Linked DNA regions of Homo sapiens: region 2 is linked to region 1. The links are contacts of gene promoters, found by promoter capture Hi-C in blood cells and fetal thymus (Javierre and others, 2016). All regions are on one chromosome and are shown on one strand. The core of a region is centred on a gene start or on the middle of the fragment in contact, and the rest is flanking DNA. Distances in the headings are between cores, read along the strand shown.

Evidence for each region. Contacts are between HindIII fragments. The CHiCAGO score rates a contact against its expected background, and 5 or more counts as called.
Region 2: a contact is called between a fragment that was not itself captured here and the fragment with the promoter of PHIP in region 1, in 1 of 17 cell types (naive CD8 T cells). The highest score is 5.0, in naive CD8 T cells.

The regions. Positions count from the first base shown.
Region 1 is chr6:79,074,022-79,081,749 of GRCh38, forward strand. PHIP (PHIP subunit of CUL4-Ring ligase complex) reads right to left here and starts at 4,233. Exons shown (of 40, transcript NM_017934.7): 1 at 4,008-4,233; 2 at 3,834-3,892; 3 at 3,679-3,708; 4 at 3,427-3,486. The coding sequence starts at 4,047. It overlaps LOC124901346 (a long non-coding RNA gene), which reads left to right. Exons shown (of 2, transcript XR_007059652.1): 2 at 1-3,245. RefSeq lists silencers at 2,952-3,451, 3,951-4,120, 4,251-4,490 and an enhancer at 4,611-4,660. The HindIII fragment of the contact is 4,735 bases long and covers 424-5,158 here.
Region 2 is chr6:79,640,152-79,647,879 of GRCh38, forward strand. All of the region lies in intron 1 of SH3BGRL2 (SH3 domain binding glutamate rich protein like 2), which reads left to right. Among named protein-coding and RNA genes, the nearest start is that of SH3BGRL2, 13 kb to the left of the region's middle. The HindIII fragment of the contact is 180 bases long and covers 4,395-4,574 here.

The sequences.
Region 1 (7,728 bases), core at 2,983-5,482:
CTGGGACAAAGAGAAATTCCATGACTTGCCCAAGATTACCTACAGTTTAACTGTCAGCGGGGCTTAAAACCACAATCCACATCTCCTGACTCCCAATCCTTTCACTTAAAACAAACAAGCAAACAAACAAAAAAGATTTCTAATAAAGTGGAATAATTTTAAGAAAGGCAAGTATCACTATTTTACAAGGAAAAAATTAAATCATTTTAACAGATTGGCAAAACATGAACTAGTTCTTGGGGGGAAAAAAGAGAAGTCTTACAAGAAAAAATGTAATCAAGAGAGTGCCAAATTCGGTAAAATGCTTGAAAATTCTGCCTCTAGATCTCGTAAATATGCAATCATCATTAAGTGACAACTAGAAAGCAGACTTAATAAACTAACTAGATTCACTATTCAAACTAAGAAATAAACAAATGACAAAGCTTTCCTTTCGTCCAAAAAAAGTTTTTTATTCTACAGTTTAAGAATTCTGATACTTGGAAAAAGTGCCCCTTTTCTTTAAAATAAATCTCATATTTTAAAAAATGTAAAATCTAATTAAACGTATACCATAGTACCAAAAACAACTTTTAGCTTCCTATCCAATTCCATTTACTTTGTTAAAAATGTTTTAAATCTTAAGGTAGATGGTGATAATCAGTCATGTTTTATACCAGAGACAGAAACAACCATAAGATACGACCATTTCCTTTCTCAATCACACTTGAAATGAACGCATCAATTTTAACCTGCAAACTTTTAAAACTGCTCTTAAAATTCTACTTTCCTCTTGATTAAAATTCAACCATTGCGATTGTAACTAGACTAACTACAGATGATCAGTGACTATTTTTAAATTCACATCTACAAATATTACACCCCATTTTAAGCAGCAATAATTTGAGGTTTCCTAGAAATTTCAATGCGATGTGATATATGAGTTCTCCCATTTAAAATATTGCTCAGTTTATTAGTTAATACAACAAATCATTTCCAGGTAGAGTAGAAACTAATGACTCAACAAGTAATTTTCAAATCAATGTTAAATAAATTCAACTCGATATACAACAACGTAAAACTTTTTAAGTCAGAATAATTAAAATAGAAAATACTGTACAAGAGACTTTGCATGTGCTGACTTAGATATTAAACAGCGAGATCAACTATTGAACAAAAAAATCCAGTGTTCCAAATGTTTTTAGACCTAACTAAATCTCAACTAAAAAGGTAAAATAAAGTTAACTCACACACCTAGATATACAGTTTGATGGATGAGAAAGCACCTCAAATGGTACCTTGCATCCAGTAGATATAGAGTAAGCAATATGCTGAATGAATGAAAAGAGAAAACGAGTCAAAGAACTCCAAGTTCTAATAAGATTTCTAAACTGTCTGATGAGTATGCCAACGTTCCTGTTCTAGTAAGGAGAAAACTCCAAGCAAGAAAAACCACTTCCATTCAAAATAGGTGAATTTTGAGCATAATACATAGATAGAAAGAATGCTTACTGTATCTTAAATCTGCGATGCAGACTAGGGATAGAAATTCACTTTACTAATAATTCCTCCCCCCACCCTCCCCCCAAAAATTAAATTAACTCAAAATCAAAATTGATAGCTCATTTTTACTGAAAAAAAAAACAAAAAAACAAAATGATATTCCTACGAGGATTAGCCATTACCATAATTTAGCCAGATAACATTAAGCTGCTTCATTTAAAAAATGTAACATTACCAAAAGATTAAGAAAATGCAGCATTCCTCAGTGACTTAAGGTTTGTGGGTTTTTAAGAGATGCACAGATGTAAAAGCAGATGCAAAGACGAGTTTTGTAAAACCTGCCCCATCTTAAAAATGGAGTATTATAATCTTTGCGATAATTTTTTCAAATATCAAGGAAGACATGTAAATTCACTGAAGACTTCTATCAAGTATTTGTAAACCTAAAAATTAATTTCAAATTAGTAAATCTTGGAGTTTACTTCCAGCTCCATTCACTTTGGCCAAGAATTGAATGAAAGTAACCCAAATCACTCCTTGAAAATTAACACACGTTCAGTGTGAAAATGAATACACTAATACACTGTTAAATCTCCATTAGATGTATTAAACCTCAGTACCCTTGCTTATTTCAACAGCCTTGAGCGGTTATCAACATCTTATATTAAACCACAAGAGATTTATACACAAAAGTTAGGAAATACACTACATACCAAAAAAAGCGCCATTATAATCATGTCCTGCTTTCACCTCACAAAAGACACTCATTCTAAGCTCGCTGAAACTTCCTAGTCATTAGAGAAGTTCTGATGAAGTAACATTAGTAATCATAACTATCTCAAAACAGTTACAAAAGCCTCATAAAATCAACACACTACATAAATTTCAAAGGCTTGGTGGGTCCGGTGCGACTGCTTTAACTGCCCCACACACATATTCACACAACGAACCTGTATCAGTTTAGGAGAAAGTGTTACAGAAAATATAGCTCCTTTAAAGTAACTTCCAATCACAATACTGAAGTGATAAATCCACTTCTGAAAAGCAATTTTTAAAGATTCCTAAAATACTCATTTTGACAACCCACAAAATTAAGGTTTTTAAGCTATTAAACAAAATATGTCCCAATATAAACACAACTTTCATAGGCCAAGTTCCATCCCACAGTAAATATGTGGACAAAAATCAAAACTCTTCAGTGTACTCCAATAATAATTTTTAATTAAACGAGAGGCATACCATAAGAATTAAAAAAAGCCTACTAAACTTCTGGTTTTAGGGAATTACAGGCTTTACACTTCTGCAAAGATGTGTTTTAGTAAATGCAAGACGAAGCACTGACCAACTATCATCACACATCAGAATCCTTCCAACAAAAAACCCAGGACTGAATTTAAGGAAAACAAAATAAACGACAGAGGGGGAAAAAATAATGTCTTGCCACGGTACCGCAGCGGCTGGATAGCCTGCTTGTGAAATGCTAATGCCACTTCGGAGCAGTTAGTCACCAGCTATTGTGTAGGGCAGGAGAAAGCCGAGCCGGCCGCGCGTGCAGAGCGAGCAAGCGAACGAGCGAGCGCGCTCTCCCTCTTCGCGCCGCTCCCGCCGCCGCCGACTCTCGCGCGCCCCCGCGCCCGCACGGACGCGCGCGCCGGCCCCTCCTCCTCCGGCCTTGCACTGCACAACACTCATGACGTATCTTTATTTCTAGCACATTAACAAAATATCACAAATAAATTGTCCGCAGCCCCTGCGGCCCCGAAGTACGAGTACCCCCGGCCACTGGCCCCCGCAGACCCCGCGCCGGCCTCCCAACCCTCCCCATGGCCTTTGGAGCTTTCACGTTCTAGGGCCAAGTTTTTGTCTCTGTAAAAAATTGCGGGAAATTCAATTTTTATTCGACTCAGGGAAAAGTTTCTTTGCTCTGCGACGTGAATGTCTCACCAGATTCTGGTAGGTCCTGGGATGCTCCTTCCCGGTCCAGTCGGTGCGCCGGGGCAGCAGCTGCGGGGAGAGGACACCCCGTGAGCCCGGCCCCCGGCCCCTACCCGCCCGCTCCCCTCCCCCGCCCGCCCCGCGCCCCGGCGGGGACCCCGAGCCCCGCGCCCCGCGCCCTGCCGGCGGCGGCAGCGGCGGCGCAGCGGCCCAGAGGCGGCCGCGCGGCGGCGGGACGCGCCGGGCCGCCGCCGCCCTTACCTCCTTCTCGGCCACCTCGCGGATCAGCACCTGCAACAACAAAGCGGGGAGAGCTGAGCCCCGCGCCCCGGGCCGCGGCCCCGCCGCCGCCGCCTCCCTCCCCCACGCCCGCGAGCGGCGAGCGCCGGCCCGGCCCGCGCCGCGCGCCGCCGTACCTGAGCCGCCTGCTGACAGGGTCCATCTTCCAGGAACCGGGCGATGAGGAAGTAGAGCTCTGCGCGGGAGAGAGGGACGGGGAGACACACAGGCTGAGCGGTCGGGCGGCGGGGGGCGGGGGACCGCGGGCGGAATCGCCCGGTGCCAGCGGCCCCGGCAGCCCCCCGACTTACCCGATCGCAGCTCCGAGAGGCCTTTCCTCTCACAAGACATGTTTATGGGTCACTTCAGGGCCGCCGACGGGACACCCCGCCGCCGAGGGGAAGCGGGGACGGTGCCGCCGCCTGCCCTATAGCTGTCAGTGTGTGTTCACGAGCCGAGCTTCGGCTCCACCATTCAAGCAACGGCGGCGGAGGCGGAGGAGGAGGAGGAGGAAACAACAACTCTCAGGCAGCGACTACGGCCGTGGCCGCCTCCGCCGCGGATCCCTCCGCCGCAGAAAGGAGTCCGCCGCCTTCGCGGCCCAGGGCTCGGCCCCGGCTCTGGCCCGCGCCCCCGCCCCCCGGCGCTAAAAAAGGAGTGCCTCCGACCCCTCGTCCCCAGCGCTCCGCACGCGGCACAGTGAGACCCCCACCCGCTCCTCCCCGCAGGGCGTGCGATTTATTTATTTATTTCCAGTCGGAGAAGATGTCGGAGCCCAAGCCGCCGGTTGGCTGGAAGGCGCTTTCTCTGTGGAGGCCGATAGTGGCAGGGAGGGGGCCGGGGACGGTTCCGCGGAGGGATCTGACGCACACGGAGCCGCAGCACAGGCTCTATTCAGCGGCGCTGGCTGGAGCTGAGATGGAAGTTAGTTTCTATGTAGCAGAAATATGAAACAAATGAAGCAAAACTGCCCAGAGAGGGGAAATGCCCCAAGGATGGGTCTCACTCACGCGCGTACACAGACACACACGCAGAGAGCACTCTCACGCTGGGCAAGCTCGGGATCGCGCTACCCTTCCCGAGTTGAATGATAGTGTTTGGTTTCTGTCTCTTGCCATGTGCATGTGTATAAATGCTGCGGATTGGCATCTGTGTAAGTCTTGTCCTGCGTTATTTCTGCAGCCTATGCAAGTGTTGTGTAATTTATTGGAGTGCTGTATATTGCAATAGAGGTTTGGGCTGCTTTTTGTTAAGCACTTGCGTTTTGCAAACCCGTTATTTGCTGAAGCCACCTCTGCATATTTCTTTTATTACTGCCATTGCCTTTGGCGTACGTTTTTTAAATGTTTTTTATTGTTAAACGGGCAAAGCGAACTCTTGATTTGTACTTCAGATACTCTTTTTCCTTATTACAAAAAGGCTAGTGATGGCTAATTAGGTATTTGGAATTAAAGAACCTTAAAGCTTTTTTAAGTGTTTACGAGAAGGGAGAATGTAAACCTGAGGGAAAGGAAAGGACGCTAATATTCATGTCTAACTGATCTGGAGGTAATTTAGTGACAGATCGATAACCTGCCTAAGGATATTGAAAGAGTATACTACAGTTTAGCCAAGGTGAATAGTGATTAAATAATTTAAATAATCTGTGTATCTTGCAGTTGACTTCGTCATGCTAATTAATGGCTTCTAATTTGAGATGTAAACCATTCCTGTTTACAGTTAATCACGGGAAGACTTCTTGAAAACTGACGAAAAGGAGAAAAAAAAATCTTTCGTAAATTAGTATGTAATTACCGATTTTATATGCTAAATCATACATCTGTGTTTTGCTGATGAGGATAAGGGCCTTGTTTTTAAAAAAACGAATATGGGTGAAATTAATGGAAACAATAGAAAAAGCCATTTGTTAGAAAACAAGGACACCAAATGATATTTATCTCCAGATGATTTAAGCACTTTCCAAAAAGACTTGAGAGTTCAATATTTTTTAAGGATTGCATTTTAAAGGGAATTTGGATAGTCGTTCTTTTGTTAACATTTAACAAAAGATTCTCCTTAAAAATGTTAGATAATAAACTGCATTTTATGGGTCTGGTTTAAAAAGGTTATTTGTGGGGAAAGGACCAACAAGCTGTATTGTGGTTTTCTAGATTGTTTCCTCAAGCCTTGTAACCTCCTAGCTCCTTACATTCCTAGTGGGAAATACTTGCTGCAAATGCCTTGGGCTGCACTGTAAGCCCAAGTGTGCTGCACCAGTGTGATGCCCTATACTAAAACATCCAGAAATCATCATACATATGAGGAAGAAGAAATAAAGCCTCAAACCCTTTGGAATAATAGGATATAAAATTGCCTTTTGTAACTGAATCTTAAAAATGGAAGGTTACCATGACTTGTCCTATTGCAACCTGGTTATCAGAATAACTTATTTTTTTTAAGATAGCTATTCTCAAATACTGAACATATTTGCATCTTTAAAGACACTTTATTCTATTCAATTATAGGTAAAGTAGCCTATTTCTAGGTGGTTAGGCTTGAAAAGATAGACTGAAAAGATAGGAAATTTTGTATGCCTTTTTGCAAATTGTATTTACTTCTAAGACCGATGCTGTTTTAGCTTAACTTTTAAAAAAGTGTTCTTCAAATAATTGTAATATTTTACACGATCTTGAAGTTCTTCAAATAAACAGAGTTTAGAAACTAAAAATTATAGTGGGATTTTCTGGTTTTGAAGGCTTGGAATGTATGATTCTTACTAATAGATGTTTTATTCTTGTGATTGAAAATAAACCAAATTATGACATGGAATATAATATTACTCTGGGTAAAGTTTGTGATATATATCTTCTGTGTGTTTTGTAAACATAGAAAACTAGCATGATTATCTCATATATTCTTTTCATTTAGAAGCCACAAAAGCTTTCACCTAAATATGCTACTAGTACTTAGCTCCTTAAAAATTTTTTGGAAAATCCCCCTCTAAGTTTTCTAAACATGATGTTCCTGTCATTTTGATTGATTTTTGACAGTGTTTATATTTCTTTTTCAAATGTCCAATATGCAGATTGTTGTAACCTTCCCTTTGAACTATTGTCTGTTATAAGAAAATATACATTACCTGCTAAAAATTAAAACTTCCCTTCAGCCAAATAAACTATTTGTATTTAACAGTGGATATTGAATTGAATTTTACTAAGTCCTTTAAATGTAACAAATACTCCAAATAGCCCTTTTAATTTTCTTAAACATAAAAAACATTTGTGAATTATAGCATTGACAGTTAACTGTAAGATTTATTAAGTTGTTTATTGTACTTGTTTATGTACAAAGTCTGTAAATATCAAATAGAAAGAAAAGTCTTATTTGGAAGTTCTAGATTTTAGTTCCCAAAGCAATGATCCTTGCAATTTTTTGTTCAGCCAACTCTTTTGCATATAAGGATAGTTCAGATTCCATCTATATCCTTTCCTGTTTGTTTATTTTAACATTTTTATGGGTTTCCAAAAATAAAATATCACTTTAAAAAGATCTCCATGCAGTTTAAATAACAAGGTTAACAAATAATAGTAAAAGTTTGGAAAGCCAAGACCTAACGTTTTTACATAATATAGTCTCTCTAGGAGATATAGAAACTTTTCTTGAAATATAAAAGTTTATGTGAAATTCATCACTTTTCACGTGGCAACACATGAAACAAAATAAATATTTAACAAAAATTTTGTCTTGATCTTGTAAGCTATTATTCCAATAAAATAATCAAATACTATCATTTCAGTTGTTTCAGGAACAAGATGGGATGGTATTTATAAGTACAAAAATTATACATTTATGAAATTTAATCTCCAGTAGTATGGTGAATAATACGTAACTCAAAAAATCTCTATAAGTACAACTTTTAAAATTTCATGTTAAATCTTGCTTTTGTTTTGATGTTACATTTCTTCTATAGCAGAAGCTTTATCCTGTGAAATACAGAAATGTAAAAGTAGAAAACACTGTTCTCTCAAAAGTACTTTAAAAAAAACTACTCAT
Region 2 (7,728 bases), core at 3,235-5,734, 570 kb after region 1:
AGGAGCTGGAGGTTGGAAGCCTGTACCAGCTAGAAACTGCACAACCCAATTTAAGGCAGTGCAGTTTCCCTTCTGTCTCCCTCTCTTAATAGGCTTATCTGACTTCATCTGTCAGCACTGGCTAGTTTCACAGTGGACTGTGGTAATTTAAAGGGTTAGTATTGCTATCTCTTTTATATTTGATTGGTTTATTTTCTAACTCTAAAACAGAAATAAAGCTTGGAAAAGCACTTAATTGAATGTTTCCCTTCTGGTTCATGACAGCTTTGCAGTGGAATGGAAAGCTGAACTCAGATGCCAGCATCCAGGCAGATGGGGCCCCACCTCCCTACAAACTTAGGCACTTTTAGGCTGGCACAGCCTCTGGGACAATTTGGGAACAATTTTGTTGGTCACCTTTGTTACTATTGACAGCTTATTCCCAAGGGGATCTACTCTTTTGAGCTGGTTGAGTATTTGGCAGAACTCCAAGGGGTTGTTTCCTGGAGCTGACCCCTGAAGTGGAAGGTATCCGGCAGGGTGTGTCTGCTTTGCTGTGGGGTCTTGGTGGGCCCTCTGCCAGCATTGCTTCTCAGCTCTTGGAGCAGACAGGGAACGTTGGGTGCGACTGAGGGCAGGGGGTTCTAACTAATTTAGGATGTGTTTGCCATTTCCTACTGGGTCATGGCCCAAATATGAAATGACTTTTTGTCATCTTCAGTCTAGTGGCTTTGAGAGTGGAGGACTGAGAGTAAGAGACATACAATTAGGTGACTTGATTGACAGGTCAGTTCAGTGGTATTTGGTAAATGCAAATATAGTTAAAGTCAGCAGCTATTGCTACATACTGATCTAATATTAAAAACAAAACAAAGCAAAACAAAAAACCCAAAGAGCAATAAGCATAGCTTTTGAGTTAGCTTGTTTTCCTTCTGCATGTTCCACAAGACGTGGGAGTGTGGTCTTCTTCATTCATGACATTCCCATGTGTATTAAAGCTCAGTGGTTCTCTCACCCTTTTGTGTGTGTGTGTGTGTGTGTGTGTGTGTGTGTGTGTGTGTGTGTGGTTTGTTTTAAATCACAGTCTCTGCTTATCTTTCACTGGTTCTCTTTTAATAATTATGTTCATTAGCGTGGTTTCTTCAAATGGGAATTGGCCACCTTTATAAGCCTGGGCCCTTCATTGATGGGAGTTTAGATTTCACTGTTCTTTTATGAGAAACAAACTGCTTACTAGCCAAAATAAATGTTTGGGTTGAGTATGCGCTGATTTCTTTAATTCTGGAGTCAGTTTATATTCAACCCATGCACCTACCTCTCTGTCCTGGCTATGGCAATCTATCATTAGAGAACAGTGTTATGGTTAAGGCGGGGGCTGAGTCCAAATCCTAGCTCTGCCACTGATGAAAGGCATGACCTTAGACAAGTAACCTTAGCCTCTTCATTTGTGTAAGTGGGATAGGAATGGTATTTTATGCATAGAAAAGCTCTTATGAGCTTTGAATGAAATGAATGATTTTGCATTAGGCATTTAGCTGAGTGCCATGACATACTGAGAACTCAGTGCATGTTACCTACTTTTTCTGTATCATAATCATCTTCAGTAGTAGTAGTAGTAATAACAGTAAAAAAAAATCACAATGACCTTGAACTGTGTAAGTTCCTTAACAGTCCAAAAATTATATACAGTACATACTACTTACTAGGCTGAGAACGCATACAGGTATAATTTTAGGAGAGATTTTAGTAAATTTAAGTGTAAAGGGTTTTCCACTTAAATGTATAAGAACATTATAATTTGAGCAGGCCATTCACCAAACATACCATTAGTTAGAGTTCTGCTGTAATGTTTGGATATTTTATAGGTACATGGCATGTTGTGCACGACCCATTCAGATCATATTTTCACTCCCTATAAAGTGCTTACTACTATGCACATAGTCACTATTCTTTGCTATACATAATACAGTCAGCCCTTGGTATCTGTGGGTTCCATATTTGTGGATTCACCTACCTGTGGATCAAAAATAATCAGAAAAAAAGTGGACAGTTGCATCTGTACTGAACATGTACAGACTTTTTCTAGTCTTCATTCCCTAAATAATATAGTATTACAGCTATTTACATAGCATTTACGTTGTATTAGATATTATAAATAATCTACAGATGATTTAAATTATACCATGTTTTACATAGGTTATATGCAAATACTATACGACTTGATATAAGGGACTTGAGCATCCAAGGATTTTGGCATCTAAGGGACACCAAATATACTGTGTATGTTTTTTTTAGAGCCCTGGCTTGATCTAAGGATTGCTGAATAATGTATAGATTTCATCCCAAATGACAACTCTGACTGTTGGATAGTAGCTGCCTGGAGAGCCGGGAGAGGGGTTTTGGAGCCTTGATTGGGATCAGCAGGAAAACAGTGTGATTGATTGTTGATGCCTGCTCTGGTACCAGAGAGAGGATCAGGACTTATGCCACGTATTTGCCATCCCTGCCTTAAACTTCATGTATTTAGACTCTGTCTTTCAGATTCTTGTAACTGATACAGAATATGTTGAGTCTGTGAGTAACCGGGAAAAGGAATATGAAACACCAAGTTGAATTGATGGATATCCTCTGCAAACATCATGCCTTGTCTGTCACCCCAAATTTGGTGGGGGTTGGGGACAGTGAAGGGCCAGGATTTCTGTGTTTAATGAAGATGAATGGAATTTCCTAGAATCCTGACTGTGAATCTGAACACTGTGAATTTTGAATACCTGTGAAACATAAGTTGGGCTGGCAGATGGGCAGGTAGATGATGGTAAAAGCAGTAAGGGGCTTTGTGGAAAAATGTGGGAGACAGGAGAAGGAAAAAGACACCTGGAAGAGGGGACCCATTGTGCTGAGCTTTGGAACACTGAAAGGGCAGCTGAACAATTACTCTTTATCTGTGTCCAGCAATGTGGTACAATATTTACTTTATGTCATTTCATCTTTACAATTGTCCTACAAACTATGATTTCTTATACTCATTTTACAGATGAGAGTGTTGAGACACAGGGTAATTAAGTAGCATGTCTAGGATTATTCAGCTCAGCGGTAAAACCTAGATTCAAACCCTTTTCTTCTGATTTTGTGCCTGGTACTTTTTATATTGCCCCACATTGCTCACCAGAAGAGCCCCTGACCAAGAGACTGGTGAGAACCTGGGTTGTGCTATCGCAACAAGCATGCTAGAATAACAGTGTCTGAGCTCAAGCTGTAATAAAGAGAGGGAATTGTGCAGGACTCCTGAGGAGTGGTTCCAGAGGTCTCCACTCAGCTGCTGAGCTGATAATTGTAGGCATGATGTCCTTAGATCATGTGATAGCAATGGCTTTGCTTCTTCAGAGACTGATGGAAGCTAAAAGGAGTATGATTTAAAATTGAAAACTAATATTTCGTGATAATAATAATGAGTACCATTCACATGTGCAGGCAGTACTAGGGGGCTTGCATTTGTTATTTGTACTCCTTAAAGTAACTTGGTATAGTAGCTATTCATAATTACCCTGCCCCCTCACAGAAGAGTAAGAAACCCAAACTTTAAACAACTTGCCTTGTCATAGAACCCAAAAGGTTGAGATAGCCAGATCTGTACCGTCTTCCTCCTATAGATATGTCCCAGAGGAAGACTTCAGAAGTTAAAGGAAATGAGAATAGGCAGTGCTCCGAAGAGACTGTTTAATGTTTTGTTGGATGTCCTGAAACTAAATGTATGATTTCCTTCGAATGTGATTCTCTTGCTGTGTGTGATAAAGTTGAATAAAACCAACTTGATGGGTTGAACTGGAAGGAGTAAGATTCGATGGGAGGGCAATAGGTAATACGGGGAAAGAAAGGTTGGCCAGGATGGCTGTAACCCAGAGATGGGGTCATAGGCAGAGATATTTAATATATTGGGGCCTTTTGGGCAACAGATCCATGGGGACAAATGGTTGCTGTGGAGGTGTGCGCCCTCATCCTTTACATCTTGAACCCTAGGTTACTAGGAGAAATGTTCTCTATGCTGATTATGCCCTGTTGTATGCTCTGCACAAAGGTGTTCTTGTGAGTGGAAGGAGTTTATCAATATATTGCAGCCTACTGAGGGAGTTGAATGCAAGAGAGGGAGTAGAAAGGAGGAGGCCAGAGTTGGGTTTGTTGGTGGAAGGGAGGGAATTGAGGGTCTGGGGGAGTGTAGACAGCCTCCATCTGTAAAGGGAAAGATTCAGTCAACACACACTGGTAGGGAGGAGGCCTGCAGGAGTGGTCAATGAAGCTGCTGTTTACACTCTTCATCTGTCCAGTTTAATTGCTCCAAGATCATTGTGCTTTGTTTATTGTCAACCATCTCTCTAATATTAGATTATTTATATGTAAATTATTGAGAGAGCCTCATAAGCTTGGTAGATAGAAGAAATTTGTGTGATACAAGGGCAGTGATGAGTAGAAAGAATGTAGACTCCAGGGGCAGGAAGACCTGGATTTGAATTATGGATCTGATACTCTAATGGGCAAGGTGGCTGAACATGCCTTTTTACTTCTCTGGATCTCAGAAAATCTACTTGTAAAGTTGTTGAAGCTTAATGAAATTGCAGCCATTATTATTATTGAGTGTCATTTAAATTGAAGTTGGCAATAATTTTCTGATTTTTTTCAACTTTAAATGAGCTATAAAGATTTAATTAAGGAAAAAATAATGTTCAAATAATCAGATAATAGGTCCTGAGTTGGCCGGGCGCGGTGGCTCACCCCTGTAATCCCAGCACTTTGGGAGGCCGAGATGGGCGGATCACCAGAGGTCAGGAGTTGGAGACCAGCCTGGCCAAAGTGGTGAAACCCTGTCTCTACTAAAAATGCAAAAATTAGCTGGGTGTGCTGGCAGTCGCCTGTAATCCCAGCTACTCAGGAGGCTGAGGTAGGAGAATTGCTTGAACCCAGGAGATGGAGTAGGTTGCAGTGAGCTGAGATTGCACCACTGCACTCCAGACAGAGTGAGAGTCCGTCTCAAAAAAAAAAAAAAAATAGGTCCTGAGTTAAATGGAACATAGCCTTAGGAATACCCCAAACTGTCATTGTTTATTAAGGTTAGTGTAGGCTGGAAGTCACAATCTGGTTGCAAGTCTGAAACACCCTCTTTCGAGTTAATATACCATTTTAAATTCTTTTGAGCAAATATTTTAAATACTGGGAGTTACCTTTCTTAGACACAAACATAACCTGGATTTCCCATTCTTCTTAAGACATCTGAAGATTACTTGATCCTGGCACCTCACTCCATTGTGGTATCATGGCATCTTGGCATGGATCCACTGGAACTGAGTAGTGATGCCCCCTTGCCTTAGGGCCTGTATCCTTGGTGTCTACACAGCCCCTCATCATTCTCACCATTTTCCCAACTCTGAGCCATTTGTTACTGAGCTTGTATATTCTTTTATCTTATAATAGAAAGTATTTCTTGGCATCTATGTCTATCAAAAGTGGGAAACCATAAGATTATATCGAGAAGGCTATATATATGTTTCAAGAAGAATGGGAGCCAGCAAGTTTGTGTGTGTGTGTTAAAGGAAGGAAATAATAGTTTTAAATGGTTATTAGTTGTTTGCTGGCTTCATTATTTCACATTATTAACTGTCTGACTTCTGTTGGCATTTGAATATTTGATTCTTTGGAGAGGTTGACTACTGTGGGGTTAAAAAGTACCTGTCTATTTGCTATGTGCTTGGTGCTAGCATGGTGTCAGCCTCTAGTCACTCTGTAATCTCAAAACTGCTACTCTGAGGTTATTAACTCTAGGGTAGAACTGCCTTGAAAAGCTTGAAAATAGTTGATCATACCCTAAACCAGGGTTTGTCATCAGTGGCATTATTGACATTTTGTGCTGGACAACTCTTTGTTGTTGGGGCTTGTCTTATATATCGTAGATATAAAGCAGTTTGCCTTATTTCTACCCACTGGGTGCTAGTAGCACCCTTCCTCCTGGTTGCAACTACCAAAAATGTCTCCAGACATTCTCAAATGTCCCCTAGGGGGCAAAATCGCCCCTGGTTGAGAACCACCACTCTACAGTATCAGAGAGGAAATGGTCTCAATCTGAGAGGACTCAGACTGCTTTAAAACTGGAAGGAACTGAAGAGATCGTTTAATTCATCTTCCTCTTCTGATAAGGTATGACCTGTTAAATGACTAGTTCAAGTCTACATTGCTTCCAAGCTCAGGATCCATTGTCCTAATACTTCTAGAGCAGTGTATTATGGAGCTAGCATACTGCATTGGAAGTTGGGAGACTTGGAATCTGGTTCTGGCGTTGCCATTTAATCAGCTTTATGTCTTTGGACAAGAAACTTGGCTTCTCTGGGCTTCAGGTTTTTTGTTGTGTTGTTGCTGTTGTTTCATAATTGAGATATAATTCACATGCCATAAAATTAACTTTTAAAAATTGTATGTCCCAATGTGTTTTTGTGTGTGTGTATGTTTACTATGTTGTACAATAATCTAATTCCAGAATATTTTATCACCCATATTCATGCCTATTAGTAGTCACTCCCCATTCTCACCTCCCTCTAGCTCCTGGCAAGCACTAATCTGCTTTCTGACTCAATGGATTTGCCTCTTCTGGACATTTCATGTAAATAGAATCATAAATGAAACCTTTGATGTCTGGCTTCTTTCACTTGGCATAATGTTTTTAAGGTTCATTCATGTTGTAGAATGTATTAGCACTTCATTTCTTTTTATGGCTGAATAATACTCTGTGGTATGAATGTACCAGAGTTTGTTTATCCATTTATCAGTTGATGGATATTTGGGTTGCTTCTACTTTTTGGCTATGATGAATAATGCCGCTCTGAACGTTTGCGTATAAGTTTTCGTATGAACGTATGTTTTCAGTTCTCTTGGGCATATACCTAGGGGTGGAATTGGTGGTTTGTATGATAATGCTGTATTTTGTGTTTTTGAGGAACTGCCAAACTGTTTTCCAAAGTGGCCATTTCATTTTACATTCCCACTAGCAATGTATGCAGGTTCCAGTTTCTCTGGATCCTCTCCTACATTTGTGATTATTTGTCTTTTTCATTGTAGCACTTTTAGAGAATGCAGTGGTATCTCAGTGTGGTTTTGATTTGCATTTTCCTAATGACTAATAATGTTGTTTTTTTTTAAAGAAGTGGTTGTGGGTATCTTTTTTTTTAAAATCTCTTCTAGCTCTGAATTTCAGATTTTTCTTCTATTCCTTGCGCAGACCATATGAATAACAGAATTGAGTCTTTAGGGAATATATATTTTGGAAATTAATGGGTTAATCAACTCCTATGTATTTATGAATATCTTCTATTGTCCAGTGTTCAGCCATGTTCAGGATGCAGAATGAGTATATGGCATGATCCTTCCCCCCAAACAACTCTTAATCTTGGGGAGCAAAGATGATCATAGAAAATTGGTACAACACAGGCTCATATGGAATATAATCCTAAATGTACTCATCCTATAGGTAAGTCAGGAAGGCAGGTATATCTAGTTGGATGAAGGCAAAGAAAGTCATCAGTGCTAGATAGAAAAATAGCAAATCTTGAATTGGGAAAGTGGCTGTTTTTAAGATTCTAAAAAATTTTACTTATTTAAAAGACGCCAGTGGAAAGTTAAAAGACCTAAATATTTTGTATTTATTGTGAATTGGAACAGATGTTGCTTTCCCTGTTCTTTTTTGTCAAATACATAAATTTGATTTGTATA